Regions from separate parts of the Homo sapiens genome. Here region 1 is linked to region 2. The links are contacts of gene promoters, found by promoter capture Hi-C in blood cells and fetal thymus (Javierre and others, 2016). All regions are on one chromosome and are shown on one strand. Each heading gives the region's core, a stretch centred on a gene start or on the middle of the fragment in contact. The rest is flanking DNA. Distances are from core to core; before and after follow the strand shown. Region 1 has its middle 3.9 kb from the start of KLF8. Region 2 holds the start of APEX2 (apurinic/apyrimidinic endodeoxyribonuclease 2).

Region 1 (6,251 bases), core at 891-3,390, 1.2 Mb before region 2:
TTCCCTACCACAATTCTTTTAAAGAGGAGGAAAAAGAAGAGAGACAAGAAACAAAGCAGAGGGAGGAAGAGCAAAGAGACAGGAGAAATAATAATATCTGCCATGTATTCAGCACCTAATATGGGCAAGTCCCTGAGCCAGGTGCTTTTACATTCAACATTTCCCCATTTAGTCCCAATAACAACCCTGGGAACTAGGTACTGTTATATTCTCTGTGCCCTTTATTTAAAAAAATAAGGAAACGGAAGGCCTCAGCCCAGTACTTTCGAACACATAGGTCTACTTACTTAGTTGATATTTCTGCCTGAATGTCTTCTGTGCATCTCATCTACCTTCCTTTCCCCAAAACACTCTGTTCTTCCTCCTGTAGTTCACCAACTACCTGAATGGCACCACCATACATCCAAGGCAGCACCCTGGAACTCATCCTTTAACCTGCTGTGATCTGGCCTTTGTCTGCCTCTCAAGCAGCAGAGATTTTGCTGTTCTCCTGGGCTTTACCTGGATTACAAATCCCTGGGAATTCCAAGCTGTTTCCAATCTCTATGCCTTGGGTTGCTTTACTTTCTCTGACTGAAATAGACTAAGCTCTCTGTCCACCTTTTTTTTTCTTGCATGTCCTTCCAATGAATCTGTCCACTTTCTTGAAAGGACTAACTCAAGGTCATCTCCCCTCCTTACTTAATTTCTTCAGGCAAAACTGACCATTGCTTCCTCTGTGCCCTTCTCTACCTCGGGGCACATATTTGTTGGTATAATTGCCTCCCCCTACTAAACTATAAAGTCCTTGAGCTGAAGCACCAGGCGATCTCATTTCTGTAACTTGGATGCCAAGTTATATTATTATTAACAATAATAATAGTTATTGAGCATTAACTATGTACTAAACTCTGTTGTAAGCCTCTTATGTATATTAACTCATTGAATCCTTCTGACAATCCTATGGGTAGACATTGCTATCCCCATTTTACAGATGTGGAAACTTAGTGACAGGTTAAATAAATACACATGCATATGTATTTGTTTCATAAAAGAATGTCCCTGTAGTAGGGGTTTCATAAATAACTCTCTATCTCACTATATCTCTTCACCACGACCTGCACCCCTGCCAAGCTTACAAGGTAAGATATATTGAGATGGAATCATACAGAGAAGTGTACAACTCTCTATGCCTTCATTTAAAAAATTTACTTTATTCCTTGGAGGCTTTGTTTCTCAATGTATAAAATTTGGGGAGTATTATCCAATATAGGATTCTTACCACTACAGCACTGTTTTGAGCAATGCTGAAAAGTTTTCTCTTAGATTCAAGTGTGTGAAAGACATTAAGCAGTTTATATCAATAATAAATGCATTTTTGTGATGTGCAGATGAAAATGAGTAGATTGCTGAAGTAACATTTTGAAAAGAGTAGCCACTACTAGCCCTGAATACAGTGGGTGTGCCTTAAGGTCATCGAGTTACTTTTTCAGTCTGAAATAGCTTTTCAAGAAGGTCGATCCATACACAGATAGCTTAACAGTTTATATTTTATTAAAAGTCTTTATTGTTGACAAATTTATTTTAAGCTCTAGCTTTTTGTTTGTTTTAGAAATACTGCCTCAACTTTATTTGTGGGGAAAACTTAGACCTTAGATGGCAAATTCAGTTTTTGGAAAACTTGAAGTTATTGAAACTTGGAAAAACAAACCCAAGATCCTTTCCCATCTGTTCTTTCATCTATTCAGTCAATAAAATGTATTGAGCACCTGTGCTTTATCAAGAACAATGCTAGGTGTTGGGGGGCGGTGGAATGAGAACATCCATTCTAAGAGGCTCCAGTGGATGAACCCTCAATTTCACTGTACGCACACAGCCTATTAGTCCACATTTCCCCTTCAAGTCCTTTAGAGATGGCCTCTGTCTCACTCAAATTAGGACCCAAAGATGGTTCACAGGGAACTATGAAACCCATGACCACAGTTAATGTCAAAGGCAGGAGTTTGCCTTTATATTCTTTTACTCTTGACACATAGAAATAATCAGCATGTGGTTGGTGTTGTCTATGTCACACGAAAGGGTGTGAGGGAGCAGGTATGGGGAACTAGAAGTTTTGATAAATTTCCCTGTCCGTCTAGGAAACACCTCAGGCTCTCCTTTCTTTAGCTGGCTAGAATAAACATGAACCAAATAGCAACCTGCGATATTTTCAACTCCTTCCATCCCACCTTATGCGTGAGGGAGACTGCTTGAAGAAGCAGCCTGTGCTTTCCTCTATATATCCAAGTAATCAGATGAGGAGTGTTAAATTAAGTGTGGAACCTAATGAAAAGCAGCTGAGAAATATGCAGACACGATTCTGGGCCCACATATGCTGTTCTTCCCTTCTTCTCTTTCTCCTCTTCATCATCCCGCTTCTCCTCCTCCTGAAAGCCAGCTGACAAACTACCAGGGTGGAGCCCAGTCTGAGGGCTGGAGGGAAGGGAGGAGGAAAAGCCTCAGTAAGAGGACTCCACCCTCTCTGCTCCCAGTAGAACAACAACAATAAAAAAAAGAAGGCTTGAGAAGCTGGGCCTGACAGGAAGGTGGGGCAGAATAGGGCAAAGTGAGGAAGGGTGGGTAGATGGGAGGGGAGTTAGGACCTCAGCTGGGTAAAGCTGGGCTGGGGAATGAAAGGGAAGTCAAGCAATATACAAACAGAAAAATCTGCATTCATTAAATCACTGTTGTTTGTGGAACAACAAAAATGTAGCTAAAACCAGGGCATAGTTCAGACCTAGTGGGAACAAAATTGTCCTCCTCACCCACTTTTCTTCTTATTCCACAGTTCCCCAGAGAGCATATTCCTTCTGCGAGCTCAGCTAGAAGGAGACCTTTTGCCCCTCCGCTAATGTTGAACCAGTGTTAAGTTCCTCACATGTCCCAGAGGACAGCACTAAGGTTACTGCCAGCAAAGGATAAAGATATTTTGGAGAAGGAAATCTAGTTAGCTGAGAGAAGAAAGCCTGGAAGGAGATTGCGGGGATAAAACAATGATTTAGATTGCAAACTGTGCAACCCTGGGCAAGTGCCTTCACATCTCTAAACATTTCCTCACCTATTTCTTTTAAAGATATTACTTCACAGAATTGTCAAAAAGATTAAATAAGATGCAGAGGTGGCTTTACAGTAAAATTAATGAAGCTTAAGCTTTACGCCCCTTTCCAAGACTCCAGAAGGGATCAAACATTGTGTTTTTCTTAAAGATGGTCCCCAAAGTGGTATAAGCTTCCAGCCCCACAAAACCTAGATTGGCCGCCAATGAGATTATAGCCTACAAAGCACAGTGTCTGGCACAAAGAAAGCTCTCAATAAAGGTTAACTAATATTCATAGCAATGGCAACTGTGAAAACTACCAGCTTTAGGTTGAGTCTCTTTCTGGTCATAGATATTGAGAACATGCTCCTGTGTTCCCCATAACCCTTGCCACTGTATGTATAAATAAACCAGTTTATAAAAATCAGCAACTAAACTGCTTGCTTGAGACATTCAGAGGCATGATTAAATTTGGTTTAGGAATGGCCAATGGGCCAGAAACATGTGGCCAGGGTTTGAAATTCTGGCACCGCACCATCCCAGACAAGCTCTAGCAGGCCTGCTGAGTCCTATAAATTTAGTTGTGCCTCAGGCTGCTATCTTTATGAGCAAGGAGCTTGACTAGGTGTGTGTGTGTGTGTGTGTGTGTGTGTGTGTGTGTGTGTGTGTTGGGGCTAGGGGGTTGAGTATGTATGGGTTTTTAACTCCATTTTAGACCCTAGATACCACCACACCCATAAATTGGAGGAGGGAAGAGGGAAGAGACTTTATAATCAACAATCAAGTCAAACCAGAAAAACTGCACCTGCAGAAAAGGGATAACATCCTTGGCCTTGTCCCCAAAGTGTATATTCCTGAGTCAGGGCAAGAGTCTATTGTGTATACAAGAAAAAGACTTGCAGGCTGGGCACCGTGGCTCACGCCTGTAATCCCAGCACTTTGTGAGGCCAAGGCGGATTCATCACGAGGTCAGGAGTTCGAGACCAGCCTGGCCAATATGGTGAAACCTGGTCTCTACTAAAAATACAAAAATTAGCCAGGCATGGTGGTGCACACCTGTAGTCCCAGCTACTCAGGAGGCAAAAGAATTGCTTGAACCCGGGAGGCGGAGGTTGCAGTGAGCTGAGGTCGCACCACTGCACTCCAGCCTGGGCCACAGAGTGAGACTCTGTCCAAAAAAAAAAAAAGAAAAAGACTTGAATTACTGCTTTAATATTAAACAAATAAATATATGAGATTGTCTAAGGAAATGCATAAATAGAACAGGAACTTTTTTATCACTGAGCTAATCCAGAGAGGCGCCAGGGCTCTGAAGGCCCCCAAAGGCAAGCTCATGCTTATCATCCTTGTGTTACTTACCACAAGCAGCTCTCACTTCCCCAACAGAGGGGTGGTATCCATCTTTCACTGTCCCCTAAGCCAACAGGAGATTGGCCTTCACCCTTCTTCCCATTGCAGTCTTATCACTTCCCTCAGAAAGTAAAAGGGAGAGAATAAAGAGGGTGGGGAGGATGTCTTTGGTGCTTTCTTAAAACCTTTCTGCCAATACACCTATTGAAGTACTGCAGCCTCATTTTTCATTTCCTCTGTCCTTTGTTTGCCCAAATGGCCTTGCATTGTGGTAGTCCTTTTCTCTCAAGTCAATACCACAAATATAGTTGGAGCAGTTTACCCTGGAGCCACAATAACAGGATATTCCCTTCTCAAGTCAGGCCAGCAGGGTATTTAAAAGAGTAAGCCAGGCAGATTAGCAGTAGTGATTTACTTCCTAAGGTGAAATAAATTATTTGATCCAAGATAAGAGTCTAATTAGTATGTTATGGGGATATAAGCAACGATACCTGTTTACATGATATAAACACACAACTAAATGGCCAGGAGTATGTGAACAAGTGGGGAGAATATACACAAATATACTGAAAATAAAACAATGCATACATACATACTAGCAAGATTTAGTCACCCAATCACAGAATGTTGGTGTAGGAAGGACTCAAAGAGGTTATTTCATCCAGTGGCATTCATACCAGGTGATTTAGGTGGTACATAGATAAATATTTTCTAATAGTATATATTTATCTGTATGGTTACCTTCTATTTATGGAGAGTAAAACTAGCTTTCCATTTATGGTAATGCTATTTTTGATGAAATTTACTTAAGTAAAACATGTCAGTGTATTTAAAGAAGCATATTAAGTAAATAATGATATAGGTAGTACTCAGATATGGTCTAAATCATGAAGTTAAAACATAAATAATTGAACTTTAGCAAACCATGATTGAATTAAATTCTACTCCCAATTCAGGAGTTCCCTTATTTAGACACCTAGATCTAGAGGAGAGTCTAACCCCGAAATCAATAAATATGAAGCAACCTTGCCCCCTCCTCCTGTGCCCATGGCAGAATTGTGAACAGAACATGGCATTTTTCCACTGAGCCTAGGTGAAGCCTTCTACTCTTCTTCCTTGAACCTCCAGTTTGGGCTAATGGGCCCTCTTCTGACTCTTACAGCACTCTGACATATTTCTCTCAGAGGGCTCACTGCAATGTAGTATACCTCTCTTTTTATGTGGCAGTCTTATCCATTTGACTGTCAGCTCCTTGAGGCCAGGAGTCTAATAGTAGTTCAATCATCTTTATGCTTTCAACTCTGAACACACTGCCTGTCATATGACAAGTAATAAAAGTTTGTAGAATGGAATAATTTAGAGCTGCAAATGCCTGGATGTGAATACTGACTTCGCCACTTACTAACTGTGTGACCTAGGACAAGTTACTTAACCTATCTGGGCCTCGGCTTCCTCCTTTGTAAAGTGAGCATAATGATAGTACTTACCACACAGGATATTGAGAGAATTAACTTAATACATGTACATAAACATGCTTAGAGGAGTACTTGCCACAGACTAAGCACTGTATAAATTTTTGCTATTATTTTGTTGAACTGAAATATGCCTCTTTGATATTTCCACCTATTGGTCCTGTGACTCATCCCTGGAGAAACATAGAACAAGTCTATTCCTTCTATGTCATGATCCCTCAAAGGTCTCACCTTCTGTCCTCTCCCATAAATTTGCCTGATTGCATAATCTATCTCTTGCATAACATAGTTGTCATACCCCCTTACCACCTATTAGTTGGTTGATCAGAGAAAAATAATAAAGACCCCTAGGCCAGGGATGCCATCTCACAGAG
Region 2 (6,508 bases), core at 2,139-4,638:
CCCATATACTTTTTCCTGGGCCCAAGAGCTCAGACAGGCCCTCTCCCATATTGAGGCTTCCTAGCCAACAGCAACTCATAACAGCCTACCTCTCCAATCTTACCACAAACTTGCTGCCTTTCATATCTGACCAACCCAATTCTGATCTCCAAAGGTGACAGTGTTCCATGTTTGACATGACTGCCTCACTAATCAGGAGCCAATGGGCATTTTTCTTGTCCTTCAAAGCTGAGCTCAGATACCACCTCCCCTTGATTGCTCTAACCCACCCTCACTTTCCTGTCCTCCGCTGGAACAAGACTTTCCTTTGCTCCCACGCACTTTACCATTCTCATCTCATTTTACCCTTAAAACTATTGTGTAGGGTAGAGATTCATATATTCATTTGACAAAAGAGAAAACAGAGGCAAGACTAGCCCTAGGGCTCACAATGAGTAAGAGCAGGAGCCTGAATAGGTGCTCAGAGTACAAAACCCATGTTTGTTTTGAGCAGAGCCTATTCAGGTGGGCATATTGGTGTTTGCAACTATGCTGTGAAAGAACTCAGAGACAAAGGGTCCATATCCCTTTCAATGGAGCTTGACACAGGGCTGGGCACCCAGGACCAACTCAAGGAAGCCTTACTGCCCAGGCTTGCAGTACCTGCCTGCCGCCAGGAGGGCTTCTGCTCGGATTTGCAGCAAACGATAGAAGCGCATCTTAAAGACTAGCCGCTCAGGCCTCCCAGGGTCCGCATGGGGGCAGTACACGTTGATTAGGGTCAAGGTCTTCTCCTTACCTTCCCATGTGCTGGAGAAAAGAGAAACCCCCAAAAGGGGTCAGTTTCAAACCTCCCCTTCTGTCCCTTCCCCATACCACATGGCTTCCATTTTGTGACTGTCTGGGATGGAAAAGAAAGGGGTTAAAGAGACACAAATGATCTGGCATGCACAGGACTTGGGGACTGACTACTGATAAGGCAGGGAGAGGGATATCTAAGGATTACCACCAGGTAATGGTGCTGCTATTCACACAGAACACCCAGAAAGACAGCAACCTGGGGCACTGAGTTCAGCACTAAGTTGCTTTTGAGATGTCTATGGTAATAAGAGCTGGATCACTAGGCCAGCCCCACATTGTAGAGATGGAAACTCAAGCTTCAGAGGGGGGAAAAATTTGCCAGGGTCACACACTGAGTAGCCCAGCCAGGACTAAACCAGGAAAGGCAAATTTGGGAACTTCTCCACGGTGCATGTATGTTTACATGGCAAGCCTTAGAATCTTCACACTCAAAGAGTAGCACCAGCAGTGCTCAGTAGCAGGGAGATATGAGCTATTACCGGATCTTATGCTGTGTGAGGAGGGCCCTGCCCTCACTATCCAGAGCCCGGAGTTCCTCTTGGGTAAACTCATCCATGTTTCCATAGCAACCAACATCCCCATTCTGGGTGGCAAACAGGCCACTCAGGCCTTCTTCAGCAGCCACTGGGGTAGCATTGTCCTTACAGAAGGTGGCTACACCTGGGAACAGACAGGGCACTCTGAGCAGACCTGGCAGTCAATAGCCTGTTGCACAGCCTGTCCCACTCCAATTGTCCCCACACAAGTCATCTAAGTCATCTTCATAAAGTGTGGTTCTTGGGCAACCTTATTCAAACCCTGGAGTCTCAGTTCCTACATCTAAAAAAGCCACAGAATGTTCTAAGTGTTTTACATTGATACATGGTGAGTGCTCAAGACGTATTAGCAATTATTATTATCACATGGATTAATTCATTTAATCCTTGTAACAGCCCCGGAAGGTAAACATTATCCTCATTTTCTAGCTGAGGAACCTGAGGCACCAAGAGGTAATGTAACTTGCCAGAGGGTGCACAGCTAGGAAATGAGCCATGATTCAAACCCAGGCTGTCTGGCTCCACAGTTCACACAATTAAGCACCACACTACTACTGTACTTCTGAGGTCCAGTAGGATAATTCTATCCATAAAAATTATATTTCATGTAATTTACTATTATGCAGCTTTAGCTCTGTAAACTAAATGTCTAAGATTTCTTATTACCCTCTCATCAAATATTGGAAACCCTTTTCCCCTATCTGCCTCCCTCACTAATTTAAAGTCCACAGAAAGCCCCATTTACCAGAATAGCCGCTACGGTTGCGGCTGAAGCTGAAATAGGAGTTATAACCCTCAACGATAGCCAGGGGCTCTGTCAGTGCATCCCCTGGAAAAAAAAAATGTAAGATTAAGTCAGAGGTAAAACTAGCATCCGAGAAACACAAAGGCCTGGAATTACAGTTGTAGGCTAATTCCTTGCACACATCAGAGCCAGAGTTGGGGGTGACGGGAATGAAATATCCATGATTAGAGGAGGACCTAGAAAGATGGGAAATGTCAGAGAGGAAATTGATATCAGAATTAGAAGGCTTGGTGGGGGGCGGTTAGAGACTATGAAGTGGAGGTGGAGAATTAGGTGGGAAGGGGAAAGAATCAGAGCTAAGCCTGGGGGTCTGAACGATAGGAGGAAGCTGGGGATGGGGATGGACATACGAGAGGATGGTGGGAATCTGAGCTAAGGGTGAGAGGTAAGAGAGAGGGAATTAGGGGATCTGAACTGGGGGTGGAGGGAAAAGGAATTAGGGGATTCTGAGGGGAGATAAGAGGGTGAAGAAATAAGAGGACATCTAAGCTTGGGGTGGGAAATGAGGTGGGAATTAGGGACTTTCCGCTGGGAGGAGAGATGGGAATAGATAAGGGGTACTGGGGTTCTGAGGTGGAAATGTGAAAAAGAGGAAATTAGACTGAGCTGGGGTCAAAGATGGGGTGGGAATTAGAGGATCTGAGCTTGGGGCAGGGATGAAGAATTCGGGGGTTTGACTTGGCGGCGGGGAGATGGACAGCGTATGGAAGGAGGAAATTCAGGGGACTGAGTTTGGGGCCGGAGAATGAGTGGGAATCTGACTAGATATGGGGTTTCGAGAAGGAGCTAAAGTTTGCTGAAGACAGGAGATGGAGTGCAATTAGGGGATCTAGCTAGGGTGGGAAATGGAAGTTTAAGAGGGAAGGGACCTGGGTCTAAGGACAGGACTCTAAGAATAGGAAACTGGGAAAGTAAAATTACATGGGACAGGGGACAAAAGTTAGCGGGAAAGAAAAAGTATGTAGGGATCCTGGAATCCAGAGCGCTCACTGGTCACTTTGGTTTCCTGGAGACAGACGATATCCGCATCCAGCTCGTCCAAAATGCGCCCCACGGCCACGGCGGCACAGTTGCTGGGTTCCTGATTTGCCACCCCTTGCAGGGGTCTCCGAATCCCATTGATGTTCCAGCTCACCACGCGCAACATCTTAAAGGGCTGGAACACCTCCCAGCCCGCGCCAACCTAGGCGCGAGCGAACTGCTTCCTGTTCAGAAGTTGGCCAGGCCCGCCTCCCGCGCGCGTTTGCGCAGGCGTTCTCGTGCGTACCACTAAAGCGCCTGACGCACGTCGGGCGGGGGCTTCAACTTCCTCAGCTCTCATTGGCGGGAGGAGGAACTGGGTGGACGCTGAAGGAAGCAAAGCGGAAGCCTAGGGGCAATGAATGGCGAGAGGAGTTTCCAGTTGGGCTCCCGCTCCTTCCGCTCGGACAGCTGAGTCTCAATGCGTTTTTCCTCTACTCAGAAGTCCAAGTGGTGCGTCCGGTTACTTACAAACGGCATTTTGCCACTTTTTAAGCGACGGAACCCTGAGCGGAACTGCTCAGCTGCCAAAGCCCCGCCCTCAGTGCGGCGGACCGCCCACCTAAGTTCACAGATGGCTGCAGCGCTTGCGCCCCAGGAATAGCTGGCGCTAAGTGCTCGCGTTGGACTGGGCAAAGGGAAGTTCATGGTTGGAGGAGGGAGCAGTAAGAGTCGCTCCACTGAGATAAGACTTAGGAGGAGGGCCTTTGGCTTTATTGGGGCAGAGGGGAGGAGGAGGAGGCTGTCTCAAGCCTGCCCTGTAGCTTTTGTCTTGGCTCTTAACATTCTGAAGGATGTAGCCGGACACATCCTTACTCTTGGTTCTGTTTCTCAGATAAGTGAAATCGAAGCCCAGGAAATGTAAGCTCGTGAGCAGCATTGTCTCCGGATGCATCCATGGCTCTTCTGTATATGTTATCTCATTTCATTCTCAAGACAACCCAGTTCGGGACATGGAGGCTAAGTTAGAGACGTCGAATGAATTCATTTCATTCTCACAGTTCACTCTCTCTTACACTGAAGTAGTAGAGCCAGGATTCACACCCTGTCTTAATTAGCTCAATAATTACTTTTCTGAGTGTTTTTACTGACCACACACCTCCCCAGTTAAGTCTTTTCCTCTGGGGCCCCACGGCACCCTATGGTCCATTCTGTCACAGTACTTATAATACACAGCTATCATTGACTTCTATTTCTGCTGCCATTAGAATGCCAGCAACTTGAGAGCAATGACCATGTCTGGTTCATCTTGTTAGCCCCATCCCCTAATACTGGACACAGCATATGTTGGGAAGCAATAGATATTTGTCAGGTGAATGAATGAACAAAGGATAATAGCAAGAGCATCGACAGGTTCATGGCTTGTTTTTGAGAGCACAAAAATTAGAAGTAATGGATATGCCCAATGTCCAGGGAAAAGCATAACGATGCATCTTTAGGTTCCTCACCCAGAATTGCAGCATAATTATTTGTTCCCCAGAATTTAAGTCTTAGAGCCATCATCCTCAATGGTTACAGCAAAGACGCAGTAAACTGCTTTTCCTCCTGGAGGACTTAAAAGGTTACCAGTTGTTGCTATCAGAAAATAGCTCTGTGATTAAAATAAAAATTTGCATGTCCTGAGCTTCTTCATGCTTTGGGAGTTATTGACTCAGGATTGACTCCCATGAGTGCGATAACTAGGACAAAGGAAATGAACATTTTTATTGCTCTTGCTTCATATTGCCAGATTGCTTTCCAGTAAGGGATTATGCCCATTTACACTGAAGATCGATCTGAAACTCAGCACCAGCGAAATCCAGAACTTGCCTGTCTCCATGGCTGGTTTTAATTTCCCCATTCTGCAGTGGCTTGTTAATATTAGTTCTGACCTTTGGGGCAAGGTGAACACATGGTTGGACTGAAGAGAAAAGGCTTCTGGTGGCTCAGGAACGTCTTTGGCAACTACAACAGCTGATATTTCAACAGAGCACATACATCCCCCACTTAACAAGGGTACGTCCTCAGCCTTCTCAGGGAACCAACGAACACCTCCAGGCTTCCTCTTTGATGCCACCCACTGGACCTGCCTTGGGGGTCTGTAAATGCAAGAGAACCGAGTGTTGGATAATTAGCGATGGAAGAAAAAACCTCTAGAATAAAAGGTAGGTGAGAAAGAAGGGAAAGTAGGCAGGAGTTGCACAAATCCACATCCATTCTTCAGGCCCTCTGGAAAGTTTTCTTTGCATAGATGGTTGGTTGTCGTGTGCATTAAAGGGCATGGGAAAGTGGGGGAAAAGATTATATCTATATGTAACCTATTTATCTGTCTGTATATTTTTAAAAGTCCATTCTGGCCTTTATGGGACACTGGCCCCCAGGGCAATTCACTAGCACCTGTGAAAGTCTCTCTAACTTGGTCAAGTCTGGTTTTGAATGAACTGAGTGATTGAGATTATAGCTCTTACCTCCCCACTGATGTGTAAAGTAGGGTTGATTTGCTGTGGCGCTTTGAACAAGCTCTCTTGCTTCTCTGGGCATCAGTAGCTTCCTCAGTAAAATGGAAATCAAAGTCTCTAGCCAACGTTCCTCAGAGGGCTGTCACGATCAAGAAGAGTGGAAAGGCAGAAACCAAAGCTCTTTGGAGACATTTCAGGACTTCCTCGCTCTAAGAGTAGTCATCTTGCTTTTTCTATAGGCTCCACAAGCAATCCCACCCAAAACCCTCCAGCTGCTGTGCGACTATAGTCTGTGGAGAGCCACTTCCATGACTAGGATTCAGTGAGGTTTGGGGCCCAGGCATGAGGCCGAAAATAGTGGAGAGATGGTGGGCCAGGACAGTGGGTGAGAAGGAAGGGGATCCTAGGCTGCTGTCACAGAAGGCCTGACACTCATATACATGCACCTAGCTTGTAAGTGTGTGGTCGATCTCCCCTCACACCTTCACTCTCCACAAATGCATTCATACCCAAACAGTCTGAGAGCTACCAATAGGGAGACCCCATTCGTGACTTTATTATCCATCAGCACTGTCATATGCTGCTTTACATGGTATTCTCCCCCGATACACATGCCCTATACTTTGGGAGGGGTATGGGGTCAGGATCTGGGGGCCTTGGGAAATCACATTGTAATCTTTTCTTCCCTAGAGATAGCCCCATTTTAGAATTTTAGACCAAGAGCTGCAGGTCAGAGCTTGATCTTGAATGAGAATCTGGTACTGACTGAACCCTTTCTCTGCCACGAGTTCATTGGCCCTTTTCAGAGAGGACTTCATTCTTTTATCTGTTTCTGTCCCATTCAAGGTAGAGAAACCTTTCTGGATGCC

What was found. The method cuts DNA at HindIII sites, captures the fragments that hold promoters and counts their contacts. A CHiCAGO score of 5 or more calls a contact.
Region 1: a contact is called between a fragment that was not itself captured here and the fragment with the promoter of APEX2 in region 2, in 1 of 17 cell types (M2 macrophages). The highest score is 5.5, in M2 macrophages.

What each region holds. Positions count from the first base shown.
Region 1 is chrX:56,225,348-56,231,598 of GRCh38, reverse strand. It overlaps a transcript of KLF8 not described here. Among named protein-coding and RNA genes, the nearest start is that of KLF8, 3.9 kb to the left of the region's middle. The HindIII fragment of the contact is 2,049 bases long and covers 1,116-3,164 here.
Region 2 is chrX:54,997,243-55,003,750 of GRCh38, reverse strand. It overlaps APEX2 (apurinic/apyrimidinic endodeoxyribonuclease 2), which reads right to left and starts at 3,388. Exons shown (of 6, transcript NM_014481.4): 1 at 3,172-3,388; 2 at 2,122-2,205; 3 at 1,320-1,500; 4 at 643-789. The coding sequence starts at 3,328. It also overlaps a transcript of PFKFB1 not described here. RefSeq lists a silencer at 3,368-3,507. The HindIII fragment of the contact is 4,396 bases long and covers 2,673-6,508 here.